Regions from separate parts of the Homo sapiens genome. Here region 2 is linked to region 1. The links are contacts of gene promoters, found by promoter capture Hi-C in blood cells and fetal thymus (Javierre and others, 2016). All regions are on one chromosome and are shown on one strand. The core of a region is centred on a gene start or on the middle of the fragment in contact, and the rest is flanking DNA. Distances in the headings are between cores, read along the strand shown. Region 1 holds the start of ANKFY1 (ankyrin repeat and FYVE domain containing 1). Region 2 has its middle 31 kb from the start of SPNS3.

The links. The method cuts DNA at HindIII sites, captures the fragments that hold promoters and counts their contacts. A CHiCAGO score of 5 or more calls a contact.
Region 2: a fragment that was not itself captured here is called in contact with the fragment with the promoter of ANKFY1 in region 1 in 1 of 17 cell types (naive B cells); the score reaches 5.8 in naive B cells.

The regions. Positions count from the first base shown.
Region 1 is chr17:4,259,649-4,265,896 of GRCh38, forward strand. ANKFY1 (ankyrin repeat and FYVE domain containing 1) reads right to left here and starts at 4,331. Exons shown (of 25, transcript NM_001330063.2): 1 at 4,284-4,331. The coding sequence starts at 4,293. RefSeq lists a silencer at 3,628-3,777 and an enhancer at 4,428-4,517. The HindIII fragment of the contact is 3,100 bases long and covers 1,502-4,601 here.
Region 2 is chr17:4,399,582-4,406,341 of GRCh38, forward strand. No RefSeq gene overlaps it. Among named protein-coding and RNA genes, the nearest start is that of SPNS3, 31 kb to the right of the region's middle. The HindIII fragment of the contact is 226 bases long and covers 2,058-2,283 here.

The DNA.
Region 1 (6,248 bases), core at 3,081-5,580:
GCAGACTTAGGTTATGCAGAGTATAATAAAAGGTGGACCAGCCAGTTTGCTTGACAAGAGGCTAAGGATGTATCCAGGCAACTTTTCTTGATGGCTAGCAGGTGATGCTCAATAAATTCATACATTCCTTCAACCACAGCCATGATTCTAAGCTGGGAGATACAGGAGTGAGCAAAACAGACCAAGTTCCTGCCCTCATGGGGTTTATATTCCAGTGAGGGATGCTCTCTAATGAGATGACAACTGAACAGACACTGAGTGAATAAAGTGGGTCAGTTGTGTGGAGAAACAGCGGAGGACTGTTCCAGGCCAAGGAAACTGCAGGGACAAAGACGCAGAGGTAGCAGCATGTCGGGCACACACAAAGAACGCAAAAAAGTCAGTGTGGCAGGGGCACAGTGAATGAAAGTAGGAAATAAGCTCGAAGTGTTAAGTGGGGCCCACACCCTGTTAATACTTAACAGAGAACTGGAATATATTTTAAGATTACGGAGAAGTGTGAGAGTTGGGCATTGAGGGGCAGGAGTATTAAGAAGAGTAGGAGAGACATGATCTGATTGATGTCTTAAAGGGAACACTAGAAACTGTGAAATTAGGCTGTGAGAGAGCAAAATCTAGGAGGAAAAGTTAAAAGCAAACTTTTAATTGGAACCTTTTGAAGTAGTTCACTTACAAACGAAGCTTAGGGCTGGGAGCGGTGGCTCACACCTGTAATCCCAGCACTTCAGGAGGCCCAGGCAGGTGAATGGCTTGAGCCCAGGAGTTCAAGACCAGCCTGGACAACATCACAAAACCCCAACTCTACAAAAAATACAAAAATTAGCCAATGTGGTGGCATGCACATCTGCACTCCCAGCTACTTGGGAGGCTGAAGTGAGGGAATCACTTGAGCCTGGGAGGTGGAGATTGCAATGAGCTGTGATCACGCCATTGTACTCCAGCCTGGGTGACGGAGTGAGATCCTGTCTCCAAAAAAAAAAAAAAAAAAAAAAAACCCACAAATGAAGCTTAGATTAAGCAGGATAGCCACAGAGATGTAGAGTTGGGGAATAAAACTAATTTTAGGACAGACTTTAGCTAAATATATATGGTCAAATGAATAGCCATGGATAGATGGAAGGAAAGAAGGTTGTTCTCTAAACAAGTCACATAAGAAGCTGTATCCTCAGTCTCTCACGATCCTATTTACTATTCCTAGGCACTATCTCCCACATTCTCACATGGCCAACCAACCATTATCAGGGAAGTTCCCATAGTGTGTTTACAGATCATTCAAGTTATATGACACAGATATCTGCTATTTATTTATATTTAAATAACTGTCTCCAAACAAGCATAGCAGGCTCTGAGAATCTGATTAAAGCACAAGCAGTAGTATTAATATCCCAAGAAACATTTTCTACCTAATCTTGCCTTCCTTTGCATAGCAAGCACCTTCAGATTAATAAGCTAAATGACCCAGAATGCCTCCTAGTTGAAGTCTGCAACATCGTTTCTAAAAAGCTTAAATCCCAACAAAAAGTTGGGACACAAAAGAGGTAAAAGAAAAACTGTGGCCGGCCGGGTGTGGTGGCTCACACCGGCAATCCCAGCACTTTGGGAGGCCGAGGCCGGCAGATCAGCTGAGGTTGGGAGTTCAAGACCAGCCTAGCCAACACAGTGAAACCCCATCTCTACAAAAATTAGCCGGGTATGATGGCGGGTGCCTGTAATCCCAGCTACTTGGGATGCTGAGGTGGAAGAATCGCTTGAACCCAGGAGGTGGAGGCTGTGGTGAGCCAAGATTGCGCTATTGCACTCCCGCCTGGGCAACAGAGCGAGACTCCCTCAAAAGGAAAGGGGAAGGGAAGGAAAGAAAGACTGTGAAGTCAGAACTTCATGACTGCTTACCTAGCTATCCCCCTGCTAATTTAACCCTGAAAGGATGTCTTCTTCGTGTGTTTATGGAGAGACACCCCACTGGCGAGATGTCTCTCAAGGCGCTTGCCGGATGATGAGTATGCTGACTCAGCCTGTATGAGCTCCTCAGGGCTGGAACCCGACTGCAAAGCACAGCAGGTGCTCAGTAAAGCTGCTGAATGAAAAACCAGCAGCCCTCCACAATCTCAACCTTGCTAATGTATTCCCAAAACACCGAACTTACCTTCCTAAGTGCAAAAGCGCCAGACTACCCCTTACCTCACAGAAGACCTTCCTGAACCTTTCTACCCGCCTCACTCCTGTGAGCAACAGCTGTCTGCTGTGTACAACATTCCGTGATTTACTCAAAAAGCAACTTCAGGGAATCCCTTGGGTTTTTGCTCCTTTTCTTACTCCTCTGCCTTCAGGCAATATTCACCTAAAGTTTCCCCCTCCAGGGATATGGTAGAAAAAGTAAAGACAAAAACTGGGTGCCTGCCGGGCGCGATGGCTCATACCTGCAACCCCAGCACTTAGAGAGGCCAAAGCGGATGGATTGCTTGAGCCCAAGAGTTGGGAGACCAGCCTGGGTGACATAGTGTGACCTAGTCTCTCTCTTTTTTAAGACAGGATCTTACTCTGTCGCCCAGGCTGGTGCAGTTCACTGCAACCTCCGCCTCCCGGATTCAAATGATCCTCCCACCTCCCTAGTATTACTGCGAGGACCACAGGCACCCGCCATCACTCCATTCACTCCAGGCTGGAGTGCAGTAGCACGATCTCAGCTCACTGTAACCTCCGTTTTCCGGGTTCAAGCGATTCTTGTGCCTCATCCTCCCGAGTACCTGGAATTACAGACACGTGCCACCACACCTGGCTAACTTTCGTATTTTTTGTAGATACGAGGTTTCGCCATGTTGCCCAGGCTGCTCTTGAACTCCTGGCCTCAAGCGATCCTCCCACCTCGGCCTCCCAAAGTGCTGAAATTACTAGCGCGAGCCACCACACGGGGCCAAGACCTTGTCTACACACACACACACCCCTTTTTAATTAGCCGGGTGTGGTGGCGAGCGCCCCTGGTCCCAGCTACTCAGGAGGCTGAGGCAGAAGGATCGCTTGAGCCCAGGAGACTGAAGCTACAGTGAGCCGTGACCGCGCCACTGTACTCCAGCCGGTGGGACAGAGCGAGACCCTATCTCAAAACACACACACACACCCCCCAAAACCAACTGGGTGTCAGTCACAGCTATCTCTGTAACTTTGCCTAAATTCCTTTATCAATAAAGGCAAATACACACGCCAGGCCTCCTTCACGAGGTTATCTGAAGTCTAATGCAAATGAGAAAAGCCGACCAACTGTCAGGTGCTGCCCAAATCTAAGATCCATCAAGTGATGGGTTCAGTCAAAGCTCAAAACCAACAGGAAAGGTCGTGGCCAAGCACACTGCAGTCACTCAATAAACAAAGGTCAAATAAGGAATACTGTTCTCCAATAATGGGGTGAAGAGGAGAACCAGGCTGCCCAGATCCAACAATGTCCCTGCACGATTCCTGACAGGTAACTCCCCGTCTCTGGGCCTTCTTTCCCCCTACGTGTACAATAAGGCTTTGACAATGAAGGCTTCTAATTACTGCTACATTAAGACAGGCAGACTCTGAGAGACCAGAGTGCCTTAAGCTGCAATGTCATGAAAAGTGCACGAGACCAGAGGGTAGGCACTGGACGGGGAGGCAAAGGCACAGAGGTCTGGTTTGAGCAGCCCTCTTGTGAGCAGTGTGACCTTGGCCAACTCCCTTCCCGCAAACCCCTTCCTCCCGTCTTCATCTGTACGCCTGGCCTGAAGGCTGGGGTTGCAGCAGAGCCGGAGCCGCCAGTGCGCCCGCCTGAAGCGTGGGCCAGCTCGCTGCTGCCTCGCCCCCACCCCACCCCACCTCACCCCAACCCAGCCCGAGGAGACCCACGCTCTTCCGCAAGCGAGGGATGGACCCCTTCCGGATGCAGAACGTGCCAGGACAGCAGTTTCGATTTCCTAAGGAGAAGGCTTACTTCCCCCGGCGTCCCGGCACCGCCGGCAATCAAGAGCCTCCCGTGCTGCCCTCGGGGCCCCGCGGCTGCACGCAGCACCGGCGCGGGACCTGCCAGCCCGGCTCCGCAGCCGGCCGCAGTCCCGCGGGGTCGGCATCGCGGGAGGGACGTTGTCATAGGAACCGCGCTCCGGACCCCGGCCCGAGAAGCTCCGGAGAGGCTAGACAGGAAGGCTCGCGAGACCCGCGGAGCCCCCATGCAACCACGCCCGGCCTTCCCCTCCCACGGCAGCTTCGCACGGCCAGCAGCGCCCCCACAGCTCCGTGTCTTCCCGCGCGGCTCCACAAAAAAACCCTACCTTCCGCCATGTCTGGCCCGGCACTGCCTGCAACCTCGCGAGAAGTGCGCGGCTCAACCGGGGCGGTGCGGAACGGAATCACCAAGTCTCGCGAGAATCGCGGGAGGCGCGGCAAAAGGCGGAGCCGAGGGTAGGAAAGTGGGTGAATGAAAGCGGAGGGGGTTGCTGGACTCTGGGGGAAGCGGAGAGCCGGGTTTCTTTTTACCGGGTATTTTTGAGGCTCGAGATTTATTAAGCACTGACTGAGCCCTGTCATATTCCACGTCCTTGGCAGGGCACCGAAAAGGATGACACAACGAATGCAGACTACTCTGGAGAAGCTTGGCAATGAGAGGGTCGAGAGAGGGGGTTTGTTGGTCCTTAGGTTTGTAAAGAAAGGAGAGGCTGGGAGAAAGGAGTCAGTGGAGAGGTCCCTGGGGAGGTAGGATGCTCTGCATGCGATGCAGAACTCAGGAAAACGGATTAAATTTAGACTAGAGGCAGGTCACCTGTTATTCCACTAAAACGGTAGGAAACAAGAACATGCGTGCAGATATATAGGGGGGAAGAAAATCAGGGAGATCGTTTGATGACATCGATTTTATGGGTGAAGTTATGAGACAAGGAAGGAGACCAAGAAGAGCAAAGAAACTTTGGAAGAGGACGCTGAAGTTGGAAGGCCTGGTTTCATGTGCCTCATGTATGTGTTGATGGATCACTTTTTTCTAGAACTCAGCCACCAGGCTGCAGTAGCAGATATTTTGAATTATAGCATTTATCCAGGGCTTGGGATTGCATTGCCCAAAATAAATTGAGGGTGCTATGAGACGACAGCCCAGGCCATCAAACGTGGGATACAGACTGGCTAGGGACTGATGGAGGAGCCACGAAACTGCAGGTCTCTGATAATTGAAGGCCAGTGCAGTGCAGGCAATGTTGTGAGAGCTTGGTGGTTAAAGTGGCAAACAGGTTCATAGTGAAGTAGCACTAGGAGATGAGAAAAGTCCAGGACAGGCCGGGCGTGGTGGCTCACGCCTGTAATCCCAGCACTTTGGGAGGCCGAGGAGGGTGAATCACCTGAAGTCTAGAGCTCAAGACCAGCCTGGCCAACATGGTGAAACCCCGTCTCTACTAAAAATACAGAAATTAGCCGGGCGTGGTGGTGCATGCCTGTAATCCCAGCTACTCGGGAGGCTGGGGCAGTAGAATCGCTTGAACCCGGGAGGCAGAGGTTGCAGTGAGCCAAGATTGTGCCACTGCACTCCAGCCTGGGCAACAGAGTGAGACTCTGTCTCAAAAAAAAAAAAAAAAAGTCCAGGACAGAGCCACGGAATAGAGTGGCTGAAGTGGAAGTGAGAAGGCAGGAAAATTAGATGTTGGGATTTAGAGGTAGGAAAGGAAAGGAGCATCAGGAGCTAAAATCTTTGGTGAATGTGGGGAGGACTATACGATTAGTTAAGACAATTGCAAAATGGAGGGCTAAACAGTAACATAGCTGAATAGCATGAGACCTTTCTTGTTTTTTGTTTTTTTTTTTTTTCAGAGATGGAGTCTCTGTTGGCCAGGTTGGTCTTGAACTCCTAGTCTCAAGCAGTCCTCCCACCCCAACCTCGCAAAGTACTGAAATTACAAGCATGAGCCACCATGCCCGGCCCAGCATGAGACCTTTCAAAAAAGACTTTTACTCAAGGGAGAATCAAAAGAATGCATCAATAGTTCAGGATTGCAGGGAAAGTGGTGGCCTTGGAGGACAGCCAGGAGTAAGAGACAAAAGGTTGGAAGGAAGGATCTGAATTAGCTATACCTGGTGGTGCAGGCTTTTAGTTGTCGCTACTTGGGAGGCTGAGGCTGAGGCTGGAGAATTGCTTGAGTCCAGGAGTTTGGGACTGCAGTGAGCTCTATCCTGCCGCTGCACTGCAGCCTGGGTGACAGAGCAAGACTCTGTCTCTAAAATTAAATAAGAAAAAGAAAAGAAATTTAAAAAGA
Region 2 (6,760 bases), core at 921-3,420, 140 kb after region 1:
CTCATGTGATCTGCCCACCTCGGCCTCCCAAAGTGTTGGGATTACAGGCATGAGCCACCACACCTGGTGAATTGGAAACTTAATCCTCAATGCAACAGTGTTGGGAGGTAGGGCCTAGTGGGAGGTGTTTAGGTCATGAGAGCTCTGCCCTCATGAATACATAAATGCTGCCATTAAAAGGGCTCACAGAAGTGGGTTCTGTCCTTTCACTCTTCTGACATGTGAGAACACAGCATTTGTCCCTGCTTGACTTCTGCTTTCTGCCATGTGAAGACACAGCAAGAAGGCCCACACCAGATGCCACCACCTTAATCTTGGACTTCCCAGCCTCCAGAACTATGAGAAATAAATTTCTGTTTCTTATAAATTATCCAGTCTCAGGCATTCCACTGTAGTAGCACAAACGGACTAAGGCAGTATTTGTATCTAAAAGGCTATCTAGAGCTGGGTGTGGTGGCTCACACCTGTAATCTCAGCACTTTGGGAGGCCAAGGCAGGTGAATCACCTGAGGTCAGGAGTTCGAGACCAGCCTGGCCAACATGGTGAAACCCCATCTTTATAAAAATACAAAAATTAGCCAGGCATGGAGCACACACTTATAATCTCAGCTACTCAGGAGGCTGAGGCAGGAGAATTGCTGGAACCTGGGAGGCGGAGGTTGTAGTGAGCCGACATTGCACCACTGCACTCCAGGCTGGGCGACAGACTGAGACTCTGTCTCAAAAAAAAAAAAAAAAAAAGAGGCTGGGCGAGGTGGCTCATGTCTGTAATCCCAGTACTTTGGGAGGCCAAGGCAGGTGGATCACAAGGTCAGGAGGGTTTTTTTTGTTTTGTTTGTTTGTTTGTTTTTTGAGACGGAGTCTTGCTGTCGCCCAGGCTGGAGTGCAGTGGCGCGATCTCAGCTCACTGCAGGCTCTACCCTCTGGGGTTCACGCCATTCTCCTGCCTCAGCCTCCCGAGTAGCTGGGACTACAGGCGCCTGCCACCTCGCCCGGCTAATTTTTTGTATTTTTAGTAGAGACGGAGTTTCACCGTGTTAGCCAGGATAGGATGGTCTCGATCTCCTGACCTCGCCTCGGCCTCCCAAAGTGCTGGAATTACAGGCGTGAGCCACTGCGCCCGGCCAAGGTCAGGAGTTTTGAGATGTGCCTGGCCAAGATGGTGAAACCCTGTCTCTACTAGAAATACAAAAATTAGCTGGGCATGGTGGCGGGCACCTGTAATCCCAGCTACTCGAGAGGCTGAGGCAGGAGAATTGCTTGAACCCGGGAGGCAGAGGTTGCAGCGAGTGGAGATCTTGCCACTGCACTCTAGCCTGGGTGACAGAGCAAGACTCCGTCTCAAAAAAAAAAAAAAAAGAAAAAATTTTTAAAAAGATCTGAATCAGGTAACAATGTGGATGAATCTCACAGATATCCTTGAGAGAAATACATATACACAGTATGATTAATACAGACGTAGTATGATGCCTTTACATGAAGTTCAAAAAGACGAAAATTTCATTTACGGTGTTACAAGTCAGAAGAGCAGTTACCCGTGGTCTAGGAGACTTTCTGGGATAAAGAGAATCTGTTGTTTTTTTTTTGAGACAGAGTTTCACTCTGTTGCCCAGGCTGGAGTGCAATGGCATGATCTTGGCTCAGCACAACCTCTGTCTCCCAAATTCAAGCGATCCTCCTGCCTCAGCCTCCCAAGTAGCTGAGATTACAGGCTTCCGCCACCAAGCCTGGCTAATTTTTTTTTTGTATTTTTAGGGGTTTCACCATGTTGGCCAGGCTGGTCTTGAACTCCTGACCTCAGGCGATCCACCCGCCTTGGTATCCCACAGTGCTGGGATTACAGGTGTAAGCCACCGCGCTCAGCAAAAGATTCTTTTGTATCTTGATCTGGGTGGCGGTTACACTGTATAGTAGGCTGAATAATGGACTCCAACTATATTGGGTCCTAAACTCTAGAGCAGGGGTCCCCAGTCCCTGGGCCGCGGACCACTAACAGTCCCTGGCCTGTTAGGAACCAGGCCTCACAGCAGTAGGTGGAGTGGTGGGCCAGCAAGCGAAGCTTCATCTGTATTTACAGCTGCTCCCCATCGATCACATTTCTGCCTGAGCTCTGTCTCCTGTCACATCACTGGGGCCATTAGATTCTCATAGTAGCACAAACCCTATTGTGAACCGGGCACGCAAGGGATCTAGGTTGCGCGCTCCTCATGAGAACCTAATGCCTGATGATCTGTCACTGTCTCCCATCACCCCCAGATGGGACCATCTAGATGCAGGAAAACAAGCTTAGGGCTCCCACTGATTCTACATTATGGTGAAGTATAATGATTTCATTATATATTACAATGTCATAATAATACAATTAAAGTACACAATCAATGTAATGTGCTTTAATCTTCCTGAAACCATCCCCCGCATCACCCGTCACCCATCCATGGAAAAATATGTCTTCCACAAAACAGGAACTGGTGCCACAAAGCTTGGGGAGTACTGCTCTAGAGTCTGTCAATGTTACCCTATCTGGGAAAAGGGTCTTTGCAGATGTGATAGCTAAGGATCTTGAGATGGAGAGCTTATCCTGGATGACCCGGATGAATCTAAATGCAATCACAGGTGTCCCATAAGAGAGAGGCAGAGGGAGATTTGAGAAGACAGAAGGAGAGAAGGTAATGTGAAGATGGAGAGAGATTGGAGCGAAGTAGACACAAGCCAAGGACTGCCAGCAGCCAGCAGCTAGAAGAGGCAAGGAAGGGACTCTCCCAGAGCCTTGAAGACAGCATGACCCTGCTGACACCTCCATTTCAGTCCTGCGATACCAACTTCAGACTTCTGCCCCCCAGGAGAGAAAACATTCGAGAGAATACGTTTATGGTTTTGGTTGTTTTTTTCTTTTTTTGAGACCAAGTTTCACTCTTGTTGCCCAGGCTGGAGTGCAATGGCGCGATCTCAGCTCACCAAGCGATTCTCCTGCCTCAGCCTCCATAGCTACCATGCCCGGCTAATTTTGTATTTTTAGTAGAGACGGGGTTTCTCCATGTTGGTTAGGCTGATTTCGAACTCCCATCCTCAGGTGATCCGCCGGCCTCGGCCTCCCAAAGTGCTGGGATGAAAGGCGTGAGCCACTGTGCCCGGCCATGTTTATGTTGTTTTAAGACACCAAGTTTGGGATAGTTTGTTATATCAACCGCAGGAAACTAGTACACACAGGTGCATATATATACAGAAAAATTCACTGAGCTGGGCGTGGTGGCTCGCACCTGGAATCCCAGCACTTTGGGAGGCTGAGGTGGGTGGATCACCAGAGGTCAGGAGCTCGAGACCAGCCTAACCAACATGGTGAAACTTCGTCTCTACTAAAAATACAAAAATTAGCTGGGCGTGGTGGTGGGCGCCTGTAATCACAGCTTCTCAGGAGGCTGAGGCAGGAGAATCACTTGAAACCGGGAGGTGGAGGTTGCAGTGAGCCGAGATCGTGCCATTAGAAAAAAAAAAGAACCAGCTCATTAGCACGGGCTTAGTGCCCAGAGGCCCAAGTTCCTGCAGCACTGGTAGTGGTGAGGCCTCCTCCTCTGGCCACAACCAGGTCATCAAAATTGGGGCTGTCAGGGCAGTTGGGATAGAGGGACACAGCTCCCCAGAATCCTAATCTCCCTGTCCTGCCTCCTGCTCTTAGGATCCCATGTACTTTTCCAGATTTTCGTGGACCCTGTGAAGAGCGTTAAGTCCTCAGGAGAGCTCCTCTTTTTTTTGGTTGTTTGTTTTTTTTGTTTTGTTTTTTGAGACGGAGTGTCACTCTGTCGCCCAGGCTGGAGTGCAGTGGCGCGATCTCGGTTCACTGCAAGCTCCACCTTGTGGGTTCACACCCTTCTCGCCTCAGCCTCCTGAGTAGCTGGCACTACAGGCGGCCGCCAACACGCCCGGCTAATTTTTTGTACTTTATTTTTTATTTATTTATTTTTCTTGAGACGGCGTCTCGCTCTGTCGCCCAGGCTGGAGTACAGTGGGGTGATCTCGGCTCACTGCAAGCTCCGCCTCCTGGGTTCAAGCGATTCTCCTGCCTCAGCTTCCTGAGTAGCTGGGACTACAGGCACCTGCCACCACGCCCAGCTAATTTTTATACTTTTAATAGAGACGGGGTTTCACCATGTTGGCCAGGATGGTCTCGAACTCCTGACCTTGTGATGCACCCGCCTCGGCCTCCCAAAGTGTTGGGATTACAGGCATGAACCACCGCGCCTGGCTTGTACTTTTTTAGTAGTGACGGAGTTTCACTGTGTTAGCCAGGATGGTCTCGATCTCCTAACCTCGTGATCCGCCCGCCTCGGCCTCCCAAAGTGCTGGGATTACAGGCATGAGCCATTGCACCCAGCTGTTTCTGCAGTTCTCTTACTGGTCGGACCGGCTTCTCCTCTTCTGGGGCGAACCCCTCAAGTCTTAACTCCTCAGAGGGGTCAGAGTAAGATTAAATACCAATTGCCCAGGCTTCATCGGCTTTTCTTCCCTGCCTCAGTTTCCCCACTGCCTTACTTGTGTTTCCTTGGATTACCTCCCAAATAAACTATCCACAACCAAGTCCTTGTTTCAGGGTCTACTTTGGGGAAACCCACACTAAATCTAAGTCTCAGACGCTGGGGAGGCCCTGGTTCTGTGTCCACTCCTGAAGCTGGGGTCTGGGGTCAGTTCCCCTCTGCCCTGGGTTTCAAGGCTCCAAGATCTCAGTTTGCTCCAGGTTTCTCCCTACATAGATGTCCCAAGAGCCCTCCAAATATAACATCTCTTGGCCGGGTACGGTGGCTCACGCCTGTAATCCCAGCACTTTAGGAGGCCGAGGCAGGCAGATTATCTGAGGTCAGGAGTTCGAGACTAGCCTGGCCAATGCGGTGAAATCCTGTCTTTACTAAAAATACAAAAATTAGCCAGGCGTGGTGGCACGTGCCTGTAGTTCCAGCTACTTGGGAGGCTGAGGCGGGAGAATTGCTTGAACTTGGGAGGTGGGGGTTGCAGTGAGCCGGGATTGTGCCATTGCACTCCAGCCTGGGCGACAAGAGCTAAATAATGTCTCCAAAAAAAAAAAATACATATATATATATATATTTATATATACATTTATATATATTTATATATATATTTGTATATATTTATATATATTCATATATATTTGTATATATTTATATATGTATATATGTATATATTTATATATATTTATATATTTATTTTTATATATTTATATATTTATATATATAAATGTTTATATTTATTTATAAATGTTTATATATATAAACATTTATATATTTCTATATATAAACATTTATATATTTCTATATATAAACATTTATATATTTCTATATATAAACATTTATATATTTCTATATATAAACATTTGTGTATTTCTATATATAAACATTTGTATATTTTTATATATAAACATTTATATATTTATATATATATATGTAAAACATCTCTTAAACCTAACTCACTGTTTTTCTCTTTAAACATGTTTTCCCCCAGACATCCTTCTTCTGCCCTCACTCACTCCCCGGAGGAGCCACATGTTCCTCTCTCACCTTTGCTCAGCCTGTTCCTCCCTCTTACCTTCTCCAGGAAGGTGGGGATGCTCTGGGCCTCCTGGTTTCTTGGTGAGGGCAAGGAGGGCTCTGCAGCTCCCCCAGTCCCAAGGGGCTGTCAGGACAAGGTCAGCCCAGTAGAGGCAGCTAATCTGGGCTTGGGGAGTTGGGACAGGGGAGCTTACACGCACAGGCTCACACAGTGCATATATACACTGTGTACGTGCCCATCTGCGCATACATGGGTGTCTGCACGCATGTACAGGCACACATGGGTGTGTATAGGCACATACAGCACACAAGAGGATGTGTGTGCACCACGGGCATGCATGATCACTCACAGGTACACATATGTCTAGCTGCAAACAGATCCCCTGGGAGAACTTTGACCAGCCCAGCGATGGGTGTAGTGAGCTGTGCAGGGAGATTGGGGGAGAGAAAAGAGAGGGGAGGAGAGGGGAGGGAATCCAGGAGACAAGGTGGGTGGAGAGGTTGGGTTGCAGTTGGGAATCCCAGGAGCTACACTGGCTTCAGTTCCCTTCCTGGGAACTCAGTGTCTCCCTGGGGCTCTGCCCACCAGCAGAGGCATTTGGGGTCAAGAAAATCAATGCCATTCTTTTTGAGTGATGGGGTCAGCTGGTTGTCGGTGGACACTGGGGTTATGTAGATGCATGTCCATCTACTTGGGCCAGACCACGCCATGGCCTCCCACAGCCTCTGTGCAGTGACCATGCCTGCAGGCAGCGGGGTGGAGGACCCTTCCATTGGTCTCCCGTGTCCCTTCCTGAACCACTGGCTTCACCTTCTGTACTCCCTGCCCAGCGCCTGGCCTGACTCCTACTGATAGCCTGCCCCTGGCTTTGGCTCCCTCCTTGACCATGATTCCCACTCACCCAATAATTAGCTTGTATCCCATTAACCTTGACCAGGCCCAGACCACATCCCAGGAGCTGGTTTCTGGGTTTGTCTAGGACCACTAGTGGGACCCAGGCTGGAAGAAGTTCTCATGCTTATGGGGACAGAATTAGGGAAGGAATTCAGAAAAGCTGAGGCAGAGAGAAGCCATTTATAATTAATAGCTCAGGACAAAACTGCGGGCAGAATTAGACTGAGTTTTGTTTTTTGTTTGTTTGTTTGTTGTTTTGAGATGGAGTTTCGCTCTGTTGCCCAGGTTGGAGTGCAATGGCGCAATCTCG